Regions from separate parts of the Homo sapiens genome. Here region 2 is linked to region 1. The links are contacts of gene promoters, found by promoter capture Hi-C in blood cells and fetal thymus (Javierre and others, 2016). All regions are on one chromosome and are shown on one strand. Each heading gives the region's core, a stretch centred on a gene start or on the middle of the fragment in contact. The rest is flanking DNA. Distances are from core to core; before and after follow the strand shown.

Region 1 (6,321 bases), core at 2,762-5,261:
CTTGGCCTCCCAGAGTGCTGAGATTACAGGCATGAGCCACTGCACCCAGCAGCCTCTCAGATTTTTATTCTTTGCACTCAACAAGCTCTTTTCTGCCTTTGGCTTTTACACATTATTTCCTTTCCCTGAAAAGCTTCTCCCCCACATTTTGTATATCCGACTCCTTTTTGTTCCTCATAGATAATAAAATGAATATCACTTCTTCAGAGAGATCTCTACTGATTATCTTTTTTTCTTCTTTCTACCTAAATTTTATCCTTGTTTTTCTTTTAAAACTTTTAAAAAGCACATATAAAATGCTTATGTGTGTGATACTATTCTATTCACAACAATCTCATAATTAGATTATATTATTATCTCCTTTTTAGATATGACACAACTGAGAAACACACAGCTAGTAAGTGGCAAAGTTGGATATGACCCAAGTAGACTAGCTTGTGCTTTTTTTTTTTGCTTTTTTTCTTTTCTTTTTTTTGAGACGGAGTCTCACTCTGTCACTTGGGCTAGAGTGCAGTGGCGGATCTCTGCTCACTCCAACCTCCAACTCCCGAATTCAAGTGATTCTCCTGCCTCAGCCTCCCGAGTAGCTGGGATTACAGGCGCCCACCACCACACCCAGCTAATTTTTGTATTTTTAGTAGAGATGGGGTTTCACCATGTTGGTCGGGCTGGTCTCGAACTCCTGACCTCAGATGATCCGCCCACCTCGGCCTCCCAAAGTACTGGGACTACAGGTGTAAGCCACCGAGCCTGGCCTTTTTTTCTTTTCTTTTGGTGAGTCTTGCTTTGTCACCAGGCTAGAGCACAGTGGCACAATCAGTACATTGCAGCCTTAATCTCTTGGGTTCAAGCCATCATACTGCCTCAGCCTCCTAAGTATTGGGGACCACAGGCATGTATTACCATGCCCAGCTAGTATTTTTTAATTTTTTGTAGCCATGAGGTCTCGCTATGTTGCCCAGGCTGGTCTTGAACTGCTGGCCTCAAGTGACCCTTCTGCCTCAGCCTCCCAAAGTGCTAGGATTACCAGTATGAGCCACCACACCCAGCCTAGGAATGCTTTAAGAAATTATTTTCTATATACCTGTCATTGATATATATGCAATACATATGGCATATACGAAAAAAGAGGGAACTGTAACTATGCAGTACTGGAACAGCATGGTGTATAGGAAAATAAATTTGGCTGGGCATGGTGGCTCACATCTGTAATCCCAGAACTTTGGGAGGCCAGGGTGGGAGGATCACTTGATCCCAGGAGTTTGAGACCAGCCTGGGCAACATAGACAGACCCTGTCTCTACAAAAATTTAAAAAATTAGCTGAGTGTGGTGGTATTCATCTGTAGTTCCAGCTACTCAGGAGGCTGAGGTGGGAGGATCGCTTGAGTCCAGGAGGTTGAGGCTGCAGGGAGTCATGATCATGCCACTCCACTCCAGCCTAAGTGATGGAGACCCTGTCTCAGAAAAAAAGAGAAAAAAAACAAGAAAATAAGTTTATCTTCTTTACGTTAAATACCAACATTTAAGGATCAAAGTTCAACTAAGCAACATCTTAAAGTGTCAGAGTGTGCAAGACATGCCTGAAATCAGACAAAAGTGACAAGTGACAAAAGTGTATCAATCAGAAAAACGGGGCAGGATAGAGCATAGGGGCTGGACCACAATGGAAATTTAGCAAAAAGGAAAGTCACAGAGGCAAACTCTGTTCTTAGTTTGATCCAAAGGAGAGGGAGGCACAGGCAATCTAGTGCGAGTCTTATGATCCCTTTGGAAGGCCTATGCTTACAGTTTGTAGAGTGAGGAACAGCCAGAGGCTTCCTGGGAAGGCAGGTTAGCTACCTGCAATTGCAGGTTCCATCTCTTTTCAGCAGTTCATCATCATTCATCAACGTGTCAGAGGTCAGATGCCACGGGAGCACACAGGAGGGGCTTCCCACCTGGAGTGCGAGATAAGGAAAGATGGGTCGGATGTTGTAGTCATTATCATCCGCTTCTCTACAAGGCTGGAATTTATGGTGGCTGCACATTTGGAATGTTTTCTCCTTTTATTTATTTATTTTTAGATCAGACAATCACAAGAGAATATTCTTTTGTTTTATTTTTAGATCAGACAATCACATGAGAATATTCTGTTGTGATCGCTGGCGTTTAGAAGGAAACTTGTCTGGTTTGTGAAGCAATGGAAAACACATCCAGACAGCCTGCTAGTGGAAACTTTGGAAGGGCACTGTCATATGCTTTTTCTCCCACGCCATCAACAAGTGTCCTTTTTTTTTTTTTTTTTTGAGATGGAGTCTCTGTTGCCTAGGCTGGAGTATAGTGGTGCCATCTGTACCCTCCACCTCCTGGATTCAAGCAATTCTCCTGCCTCAGCCTCCCAAGTAGCTGGGATCACAGGCGTGCACCACCATACCTGGCTAATTTTTGTATTTTTAGTAGAGATGGGATTTCACCATGTGGGCCAGGCTAGTCTTGAACTCCGGACCTCAAATGATCCATCCACTTCTGCCTCCCAAAGTGCTGGGATTATAGGCGTGAGCCACTGTGCCCGGTCAACAATCATCTTTTTTTTTTTTTTTTTTTTTTTTACCAGGTACACAATGATGGGAGAGTTGAGTCCTGCTTTCTAACTTAGAAAACGCATGTGTGTTCATCACCTGGTCACTGAGAAACAGCTCTGGAATAGGTGCCATGCAGAAGAAGAGAGGGAACTGGAAAGACCCACTGATCTGTGGGTCTCACAGCCTCCCGTTACACAGAAATTGCTTCTTTTCTCTCATGTTGCGTTCTTCCTCTTGATTCTCGACCCTTCTCCACTCTTTCATTTACTCCACTCTTACTTTGCTTTCACCTCCTTTTGTAACCGTTCATCATCACTCTTCATATGGATTAATGTGATTATCTTAAAAGCATGTAATATGTAGTTGCTGGGTTTGTATGAGTAATGAGTGAACCTGAAGCCAACATAATGATCCCGTTTAGTGCTCCCGAGTTAAGATTCCAGAGTTGCCTGACTTTGGACAAATCACATCTCCCTTTGCCTTTCACCCCCTGTAAACTGAGGATAATGGCTCTTACCTCAAAGCATTGTTAGGATTGGAGAGAACGCATGTTACATACTTAGAAGAATGCTTGGTATGGGTCTCAAGAACTCTTAGCTCTTATTGTTTAAAAAATGCTTATTACAGGGCATCGTTGGTATCTTATATAGGGAATTTCAAGCAGTTTTCCTTTATTGAAGACACAGAGTAAGGTGCTTTGATGGAAACTATTGGGGCAAGATATACAGTACCTAGCTAGAGGTTTCCTGGGTGCATGTATTGTGGAGATATTTTTTTTCTGAGTGGATAGCGCTCTTGTGATACGCTGGGTGAGGGCGAGCAATATTTAGCGGACTGTCCTGTGAGGATAGTAAGGTTATCTGGTGAGAGTGTTAGGTGGCCCAGGCCAGACTTGGGAGAGGCAGGGAGAGAGGGGGACGACGGAGGAGGGCGCCTTGGGGTGCGTCTTGAAAGCTTTGGGAAACCCAGCGGTCTTTTGGGGGCAGGTGGCCCAAAAAGCCTTCTGCGCGCCCAGGGGACGAGGAGGATGCGCGGACCGCGACCGCGATAGTTTTGTTTGCTTTTCTCGGGAGAAAGCGTTCCAGGCAGTTTCCTGAGCTTCGGCCCTCGACGTAGCAAAAGAGCCCGGGCGCCCACGCCGCTCTCGGGGTCTTCTACTGCCACCGGGACAAAGCCCTGGGAGGAGCTCCCGCCCCCGCGAGCCGGACAGGGCGGAGGCTCCCCCGCCGCGCGCGCCCCACCGCTTCCCAGTCCCAGACCCGTCGCCTGCGCCTCCTCCTGGCGCGCCTCACGGTGCAGCGGGCGGCGGCCCGCGCGCCCGGCGGGAGGCGCCTCGGGATGTTTCCGTCTGGTCCTTCCCTCCGCCCCCCGCGCTGACTCCATCCGCTCCCCGCCCCCTGCTCGGAGCCGCCGCCACGCGGGAAGGGAGGGAGCCGGCCCCGAGACTGCATCATTCCGCACCGGCTGCTGCAGGGCCAGAGGGAGCAGGTGGAGCGAGAGAGCGAGCCGCGAGCCGGAGCGCGCCAGACCCAGGGCGAGACTGCAGTGACGCGGCCCGGGAGACATGGCGGACGGGCGTCTCTGAATAAGCAGAATCCGGAGCCCCTCGCTACCCGCGGCCGCCGCAGCCCGGGCCATGCCGCACGGCTGCTGACCGCACGCAGGGGCCGGCCCCGAGGACACATGCGGCGGCCTTTGCCGCCTCGCCCCTGACCCTCTGCCCTGTTCTCCATGTTGCATTTCTCGTCAGTTTCTCGGGCGGTGTAGCTGCCGCTGCCACCAGAGCCGGCGGGGCATCGCGCTGCTCATTCATCCGGCCGCACTTTCTTTTCCGTTTCCACCCATCCCTTCCCATTTCCTTCTCCCTTTCCCCGCCAGCTTCGCATCCATCTCCCCCACCCCGTAACCCCCTCCTGCCTCCATCCACCGGGGCTATGGCCGCAGAAGAGGTATTGCAGACGGTGGACCATTATAAGACTGAGATAGAGAGGCTAACCAAGGAGCTCACGGAGACCACCCACGAGAAGATCCAGGCTGCCGAGTACGGGCTGGTGGTGCTGGAGGAGAAGCTGACCCTCAAACAGCAGTATGATGAACTGGAGGCTGAGTACGACAGCCTCAAACAGGAGCTGGAGCAGCTCAAAGAGGTGAGTTGCCTGTCACCTCTCCCTTTCCTGGCCCTCACTCCCCCCACCCGCAAGGCCCACTCATCATGATCAAGAAGTCATAAAGGAGGTGATTGAAAGGACTGTTTTTTCTTCTAGGGCCCTTTGTTGGTAAGAGAAGATTGAAAGAGTCCATTGTTTCCTCCCCCAAGAGAAAAATTGCCTAAGAAATGAATATATAAGCTGGAATTTGGGAGGCAATGGCTGTTTGGCCTGCGGGGGAGGGAGATTAGTAAGAGTCATCAAGTCTCAGCACTCTAAGACGACATTCAAGTGGGTTGGAATGTATAAATCAAACTTCTCAAAACCGCTGTTATCTCAAACCCAGGTTTCAGCGACAATTTCGTAGTCCACAAAAGTGATGAGGTTTGTGCCTGAGGACCCACAATTTCAGGATTTAGACTGTGTGGCACCTCAGCTTTCCTCTGGATGTAACCACTCCTTGGTGAGAGAGGGAACTCCTCACCAATCCCATTTGACAAAGGCTAGGCAATCTTCATTCTGCTTGGCTTTAGTCATTCTTGTCATTGGGCTGCAGAAGAAAAACAACTTTGCTGGGTGATCCCACTGCCTTGATTTCACCTCGGAGCGAGGCTGGGCCATGTCCAAGTCTTATGAGGTCACCCTGACTAGAAAAAATTGAACTCACCTACAAATAGTCTGAAAGAGTGGTGTATATCAAATACGTGGGTAGTGTTGCATTTCAAATGAGGCTCTTCTGGTTGAAATGATATATTTATAAAACCAGAATATCAAAAATGGGTGATGTATAATGTCTCTTTAGTTTTTTGGTATTTGGCCTCTTTTAAAGCCTGTCGGATGTATGGGAGAAAACAATGAACGTGCTTTGATTTCCTATCAGTCACTCTTAAGAACATACATATTGTTTAAGTAACTCGGTCTTTTTTATCTGATTCTTGAGGCACTATGGGTAGCAAATAACCACTTACAAATTTAAATGTAATATACACTCCTTTTCTGTGTGTCAAGTCCTTATTTTTAGGTGCATATTGACATTTAAATGTTAATTATTGTTTGGCATATAATATCAAAAATCTATTATTTATTTTATGCTGTTACAGTTAAAAGATGTGATTTATGACATACTGAATCAACTTGCCTTCCAATTTAGTGTGTAATATGGTAAGCATTTATACTTTTAGATATGTCTTATTTTTATTTGGATGCCTGTCTACCAAAAAATAAATGTACTACCTATGATTAAAAATCCCAACTAGGAATCTAATTTTTGTGTGTCAGGCTGTAAATTTCTGGTTCCTATTTTACTTACCATGTACCTGTCTGGTCTTAACAACAGCTGGACTTGTTTATATTTTCCAACTTAGATTAGGCTGACATGTTTAAATGCAGTGATGCTAAACCTTGTGAAGTGAGGAAGCAGGATGATGACTGTCATTCTCAGAGATGTTTTGATATTGTCTATACCTATCAACACTGCTTTGCCAAGATAGGGAAGTGCAAACCAGAAAGTGGTAAGCCATCACCTTCTTGATAAAGGAGATGGACTTAATTTAATGAAATGTACCTCTTACTGACTTTGCTGCTTGATTTAAACAATCCTTCTAGGGATATT
Region 2 (7,271 bases), core at 1,256-3,755, 530 kb before region 1:
TTTTTGAGACGGAGTTTCACTCATTGCCCAGGCTGGAGTGCCATGGCACGTTCTCGGCTCACTGCAACCTCCACCTCTCGGGCTCAAGCGATTCTCCTGCCTCAACCTCCTGAGTAGCTGGGGAGCCACCACGCCCGGCTAATTTTTGTGTATTTTTAGTAGAGACAGGGTTTCACCATGTTGGCCAGGCTGGTCTCAAACTCCTGACCTCAGGTGATCTGCCCGCTTTGACCTCTTAAAGTGCTGGGATTACAGGCGAGAGCCACCGTACCCAGCCAAAAGCTACAATTTTTTAAAAGCACATATTGCCAGGCCAGGTGCAGTGGCTCATGCCTGTAATCTCAGCACTTTGGGAGGCCAGCGCAGGTGGATCATGTGAGGTCGGGAGCTCAAGACCAGCCTGACCAACATGGAAAAACCCCATCCCAACTAAAAATACAAAATTAGCCAGGTGTGGTGGCGCATGCCTGTAATCCCAGCTACTTGGGAGGCTGAAGCAGGAGAATCCCTTGAGCCCAGGAGGTGGAGGTTGTGGTGAGCCGAGATCACAACACTGCACTCCAGCCTGGGCAACAAGAGCGAAACTCTGTCTCAAAAAAAAAAAGAAAAAAAGGCACATAAAGCACATATTGCCTTTTGTTATTTCAAAACAATCATTTTATTTACCCTCACTCATTGTTAAGTAGCAAGAATGCCCCCACGCAAACCAAAGTCCTACAGCTTCATTGTTACAAATCTTTCTGATGGTGCGTAAAACAGACATTCCTCAGAAAGTCCTATTAAAAAATGTCTGAAACAAAGCAAATACTTAATTTTCTGGATAATCTTGAAGATAGGATGTAAAACAATAACAAAATAAATATCAAATCCCCAAGCCCTTATTTTTGTCACTAATTTTACTCTTTCTCAAAAAAAAAAAAAAAAAAAAACTCACGAGTTATTAACACATAGCCAATGAAATCAGTCTCCTTTTCTCTGTCCTTGTTTCTCTTCCTACTCTATTTTAGGCATCTGAAAAAGTATCTAAAAGGTGTTATCTAAAAAGTGCTTATTATAAGAAGGTTAAAGCACTGATTCTCTCTGAAAAAAATCTCCTGCTCTTGTATGACACCCTCTAATTCTGGATTTTAACTTCTCATACCTAGAGACAACAAATAGGGAATAAACAGTTGAATCTCTCTTGGATTTCCTTATCCTAGAAAGCTCTAATTGTTAGCCTCTCCCGAAATATACCATTTTAGAAAACATAATTAAATAGATTTGGGGGACAGGAAAGCATTAAGGAAGAAAAAGACTTTTTAAAGAAAAAATATTTACGAAACTCATGCCAATTAAATCTGAATGTTCTCTTTAATTCTAAGAGCATCTTTTAAAGGACCTTAAAGCTTTATATGTTGCTGTGTAAGGAAACCTGAGCAGACTGGAGAAAAGCTCAAAGGCCTATCTATAATCTCATCACAAAGTGACAGGGTCAAAAGGCAGAGGTCAGGGAACAGGGTACAAAATAGTTCCCACACTTGAAAGAAAACTGTATCTCATTAGTTCAGAGATATTAAAAAATATTCAATTGTGTTACTAAAATGACAATTTATACTTTAAATCCCAAGGCAAATTTGAATATTATGAAATAATATACTTTTAAGAGCAAAAAATGTAAGAAGTTACCTCTTCTACATTTGAAAAAAACACCAATCTCTCGCTCACACATATACCAGTGCTTCAACTGTCCCTCAAAGACTGATGTTCAGATAAAAGCTGTCACCTGACCTATTCAATAGAGTTCAATAAGGCACTGAAATAAATACTGAATGTGCATACATGTCAACAGACATTTCATATCTGGGCCTCTGCCCCATAATGATTCAACAAGGTATGTCTACTTCATGGCCTTATGTTCACATTCAGAAAAAGCTAAATTTTTACTCTTGCTTAGAGATTTCATTCCAGGGAAAAGTGAATGTAATTTCGTTCAATATTCATTAAGTAGGCTCAACACTTGTGCAAGAGACTCTTATAATGACTCCATGATTCTTCAATGGACAATTAAATCTACAGAAGCTCTGGGGTCTAGGGCATTTGCTGGCTATCCCTCTACCACTTCTACTCTAACCACAAATTTTGTGTTCTAAGTGGCAGAGAGGGTGATAGAGGTATCAAAGAGATAAAGAGAATTCTGGCCAGGCACCGTGGTGCACGCCATTAGTCCCAGCTATCCCAGGAGGCTGAGGCAGGAAGATCCCTTGAGCCCAGGAGGTTGAGGCTGTAGTGAGCTATGATGGCCTGTTAATAGCCACTGTGCTCCATTCTGGGCAACAAAGGGAGACTCTTTATCTCTTAAAAAAAAAAAAAAAGGCACAGTGGCTCATGCCTGAAATCCCAACAGTGGGAGGCCAAGGTGGAAGAACCATTTGAGGCAAGGACCATTTGAGACTAGCCTGGACAACACGGTGAGATCTTGTCTCTACAAAAATAAAAAAAAAAATTAGCCAGGTGTGGTGGCATGTGCCTGTGGTCCCAGCTACTCGGAAGGCTGAGGCAAGAGAACCACTTGAGCCCGGGAGATCGAGGCTGCAGTGAGCTGTGATCGCGCCACTGCACTCCAGCATGGGTGAGAGAATGAGACCCTGTCTCTAAAAAATAATAATAATAATAATAATAATAATAATTTAAAAGGGAGGTGGCCAGGCGCGGTGGCTCCCTGTAATCCCAGCACTTTGGGAGGCCAAGGCGGGTGGAGCTCTTGAAGTCTGGAGTTCGAGACCAACCTGGGCAACACAGCAAAACCCTGTCTCTACTAAAAATACAAAAGTTAGCTGGGCATGCTGGTGCATGCCTGTAGTCCCAGCTACTCGAGAGGCTGAGGCAGAAGAATCGCTTGAACCTGGGAGGCGGAGGTTGCAGTGAGCTGAGATTGCGTCACCGCACTCCAGCCTGGGTGACAGAGCGAGACTCTGCCTCAAAATAAAAAATAAAATAATAAAAGGGAGGTGGAGGGGGAATTTTGGAATCACCAGTATGGTTCTTAAGTTTTTGTTTTCTACCAACTTCTATCCTCTCCATACACTCAATACTTTAATTATTTCCCCATTGGCCCCATCCACCAGAAACAAGATGATTTACAAGTGGTTCACTGTAAACGGGTCCTGTCAGTCCTTCACTATGAAGAATATACAAGATTTTACATTCTAGTACACACAGCTTTCACATATTTAATTAAAATCAGATTGTAGCTAGAGCTGCCAGTGAAAAAATGAAGCACTGCCAGACAGGAGTGAGAATGACCAAACAAAATAACCTATTTTCACATAGTCACCTCAAGGGTACCAATGCCTGTGTTTTAACTGTGAAATCACAGTCATTGTTCTGGTGAACAATGGCACAAAACAAGTTAAGTCCAGTGTGAAAGTTCATTTTCCTCGAGCTGAGCAAGAATATTTTGAAATCCTGACAAAAGTTTATTTATTAAGAAAATACATACACTTGAGACAGGAGATAGGAAATAGTTTTAAACAATCTGTTATCTTGTTACCCCAGCCATTTATATTTCCTTAAAAGTTAGAGTTGAAGTTGAGGATAACTTAACCTAAAAATAGAAAACACTGTGGTTCTAAAAGTAAATCACCTACAAGCTTTAAACCTATAACCAGCCATAAATTCCTACTGCTCAATGTATTCTTATTAAAGTTAGTATGTCATTCTCATAGAATTCCAATTGATAATGTTGGTGCTGATTCTTGTAACAAAGGAGGACTACATCAGGGAATTACGTAAGAGTAGATTGTGACTACCCACTTCCCCCTTCAAAAGCAAGTCACATCTCTGCCCAAAGGAAACAATTCCTTTTTGCTGTTTTAGTCCTGATCTACAGCAATAAAAAATTGATATAAATTTAATATCTAGAAAGAATATCCTTAGACTAGCAGATTGTCCCTGTTTTCTCAAAGGACCACAAGAGAAGGAAGAGGAAGAAAACTGAACAGATACTGGAAATAAAAGGTACTAAACCCGAAAAGATGTGAGATATAAGAAATTGCCCAGTTTCAGGCTGGATGTGGTGGCTCACACCTGTAATTCCAGCACTTTGGGAGGCCCAGGCAGGATAGCTTGAGTCCAGGAGTTCGAGACAGCCTGGGCAACACAGTGTGACCCCATGTCTACAAAAAAATTTAAAAATTAACCAGGCACATAGCAGGGCACGGTGGTACATGCCTGTAATATCAGCTACTTGGGAGGCTGAGGCATGAGAATTACTTGAACACGGGAGGCGGAGGTTGCAGTGAGCCAAGATCACGCCACTGCACTCCAGCCTGGGAGACAGAGCAAGACTGTCTCAAAAAACAGAAAGAAAGAAAGAAAAAAGTTAACCAGGCATGGTGGCACATGCCTGTAGTCCCAGCTACTCAAGAGGCTGAAGTGGAAGGACTGCTTGAGCCAGGGAGGTTGAGGTTACAGTGAGCTATGACTGTGCCACTGCACTCCAGCCCGTGTGACAGAGCAAGGCTCTGTCTCCAAAAAAAAAAAAAAAAAGAAGAATGAGGCCGCGCGCACAGGGGCTCACACCTGTAATCCCAGCATTTTAAGAGGCCAAGGTGAGTGGATCATTTGAGGTCAGGAGTTCCAGACCAGTCTGGCCAACATGGTGAAACTCTGTCTCTACTAAAAAATACAAAAATTAGCCAAGCGTAGTGGCAGACGCCTGTAATCCCAGCTAATCGGGAGGCTGAGGCATCAGAATCGCTTGAACCCGGGAGACAGAGTGTGTTGCAGTGAGCCGTGATCATGCCACTGCACTCCAGCCTGGGAGACAGAGCAACACACCATCTCAAAAAAAAGTAATAATAATGAAAGATAAGAAAGAGACAGAGAAAAGAGAGAAAGAAAAGAAAAAAGAAAAAAAGAAATTTCCCAGTTTCTGCTAGAAATGAAGGTAAATGGAAGATTCAGACAGACATTTCCAAGAGTTTTTTCAGGTCAGGCGTGGTGGCTCACACCTATAATCCCAGCACTTTTGTAGGATGAGGAGGGAGGATTACTTGAAGTCAGGAGTTCGAGACCAGCTTGAGCAATAAAGCAAGAACCCATCTCTACAAAAAAAAAATGTTTTTTTTAATTAGCTGGTCATGGTGGCGCACAGCCGTGGTCTCAGCTTCTCAGGAGGTTGAGGCAGGAGGATCACTTGAGCCCAGGAGTTTGGGAGATCAAGCCTGCAGTGAGCTATGATCACACCACTGCACTCCAGCCTGGGCAGCAGAGTGAGACCTTATTTCTAAAAAAAAAAAGAGCGAGCTTTTTCACTATGAGGTTTTACATAATGATACAAGAACTTTTTTGTCAAAAGAATATTTCTTCTTCTACAGGTTTTTCTCAAAAAGGGACAACCAAAAGAGCAATAAGAGGTGGCATCATGAGGACCAAGGTGAAAATAAGGGTGATCTTTGAAGAAGGGATTAGAGAAAAAAAGTACAAAAGCCTGGTCTATGAGCAATCTTGTGTCAAGCTGTACTGAGGAATTAAGATGATCAGAAATTTACTTAATTTACATTATCACTTCTACATTGATGTTTTCTCAAACTATAGGATAATTTCCTGTTTAAATAAATGACAGAGTATGTTGTACTAGAAAAGAGGAAGAGAAGGGAGGGGCAAGAAAATATAGTCTACAAAGCAGAAACCTGGATTCTCCAGGCATGGACAGGAAAAAATTAAGCAAAATTAAGTGGATTTTCATCAGAAGGTCTCTGGGAATCTATAAAAATAGATTTAAACTTAAAAATATTTAAACTTAAAAATATCTTTAGGCCGGGCACGGTGGCTCACGCCTGTAATCCCAGCACTTTGGGAGGCCGAGGCAGGCAGATCACGAGGTCAGGAGATCGAGACCTTCCTGGCTAACATGGTGAAACCCCGTCTCTACTAAAAAATACAAAAAATTAGCCAGGCGTGGTGGCGGGCGCCTGTAGTCCCAGCTACTCAGGAGGCTGAGACAGGAGAACGGCGTGAACCTGGGAGGCAGAGCTTGCAGTGAGCTGAGATTGCGCCACTGTACTCCAGCCTGGGCGACAGAACGAGACTCTGTCTCAAAAAAAAAAAAAAAAAAAAAAAAAATCTTTAAACTGGGTTTCACAGTTTAAAATCTAGAGGTCCACAAACTATATTTAAGGATTCAGCACTTCAGTCTTCACAGCAGAACTGAATGAAAAAATTCTACAGGGTCCAGTGCAGTGGCTCACGCCTGTAAACCTAAGCACTTTAGGAGGCCGAGGCAGACTGATAGCTTGAGCTCTGGAGTTCGAGACCAGCTTCGGCAACATAGTGAAACCCCATCTCTACAAAAAATACAAAAATTAGCCAGGCGTGGTAGCACACACACCTATAGTCCCAGCTATTTGGGGGACTGAGGCAGGAGTACTGCGTAAGCCCAGAAAGTGGAGACTGAAGTGAGCCAAGATCATGCCACTGCACTCCAGCCTGGGGGACAAAGTGGGACGCTGTCTCAAAAAAAAAAAAAAAAAAAAAAAAACTACAACCCTAACATTATTAACTCCATCACATTTTTGTTTGTTCGTCTTTAGCTCAGATCACCTTTTGGATCATTTTTTATTGTAATTTATAAATACTCTTTCCAAAACACTGTCACATTGTATAATTGAGAAAAGTATCTAGAAACAATCCAGATCAGCAAAAGTGTTGAGACACACACTCCCATGGGTGTCCTCAGATAATGCACAAAATAGTTTTCTAGAGGAAAGTAAAGCAAACAGACTGACTACTTCTGCAGTGATATTCCTAAAAGGCTTTATTAATATGTGGAAACTATTCATAGCTCATCAGTAACGGTAGCTTACCAGTAGCATAAAATAGATTTCCCATTATGTATGGGGCTATGCACAATTACTGGTTTGATGCATATAATGCCACCTTTCTCTCCCACCCAGTAAAAGCATACAGGAATGGAACTGAATAAAAATAATATCATTAGAGGGAAGACCTTGAATCCATTCCACTTATTTTAAAATATATATCATAACCTCAGTATGTCTACTACTGTTAATAATTACTTGTGACCTAGCTCATGAACAGTAGGCCCATTAATGTGTCACCACCCAGCAGTTGAGGACAGCTGGTCTGAAGGACTCAGAGGGGCAGCAGGGCGTAGGAAAAAAGGCTAGTTTGCAGCCAGACAGCCTGGGATGGAATCCAAGCTATGGCCTTTCCTGTCTTTGGGCAACTCACTGAATGTCATCCTTCTCATCTATCAAATGAGAAAAGTC

The links. Contacts are between HindIII fragments. The CHiCAGO score rates a contact against its expected background, and 5 or more counts as called.
Region 2: a fragment that was not itself captured here is called in contact with the fragment with the promoter of BICD1 in region 1 in 1 of 17 cell types (neutrophils); the score reaches 5.1 in neutrophils.

Annotation. Positions count from the first base shown.
Region 1 is chr12:32,102,836-32,109,156 of GRCh38, forward strand. BICD1 (BICD cargo adaptor 1) reads left to right here and starts at 4,012. Exons shown (of 10, transcript NM_001714.4): 1 at 4,012-4,709. The coding sequence starts at 4,497. It overlaps BICD1-AS1 (BICD1 antisense RNA 1), which reads right to left and starts at 4,627. Exons shown (of 3, transcript NR_185992.1): 1 at 4,559-4,627; 2 at 1,841-1,938; 3 at 1,282-1,455. RefSeq lists a silencer at 3,535-4,014 and enhancers at 4,375-4,454, 4,982-5,619. The HindIII fragment of the contact is 11,162 bases long and covers 3,515-6,321 here.
Region 2 is chr12:31,571,632-31,578,902 of GRCh38, forward strand. The region is part of intron 1 of DENND5B (DENN domain containing 5B); the gene reads right to left. Among named protein-coding and RNA genes, the nearest start is that of DENND5B-AS1, 15 kb to the right of the region's middle. RefSeq lists an enhancer at 1-249 and a silencer at 3,570-3,770. The HindIII fragment of the contact is 2,244 bases long and covers 1,384-3,627 here.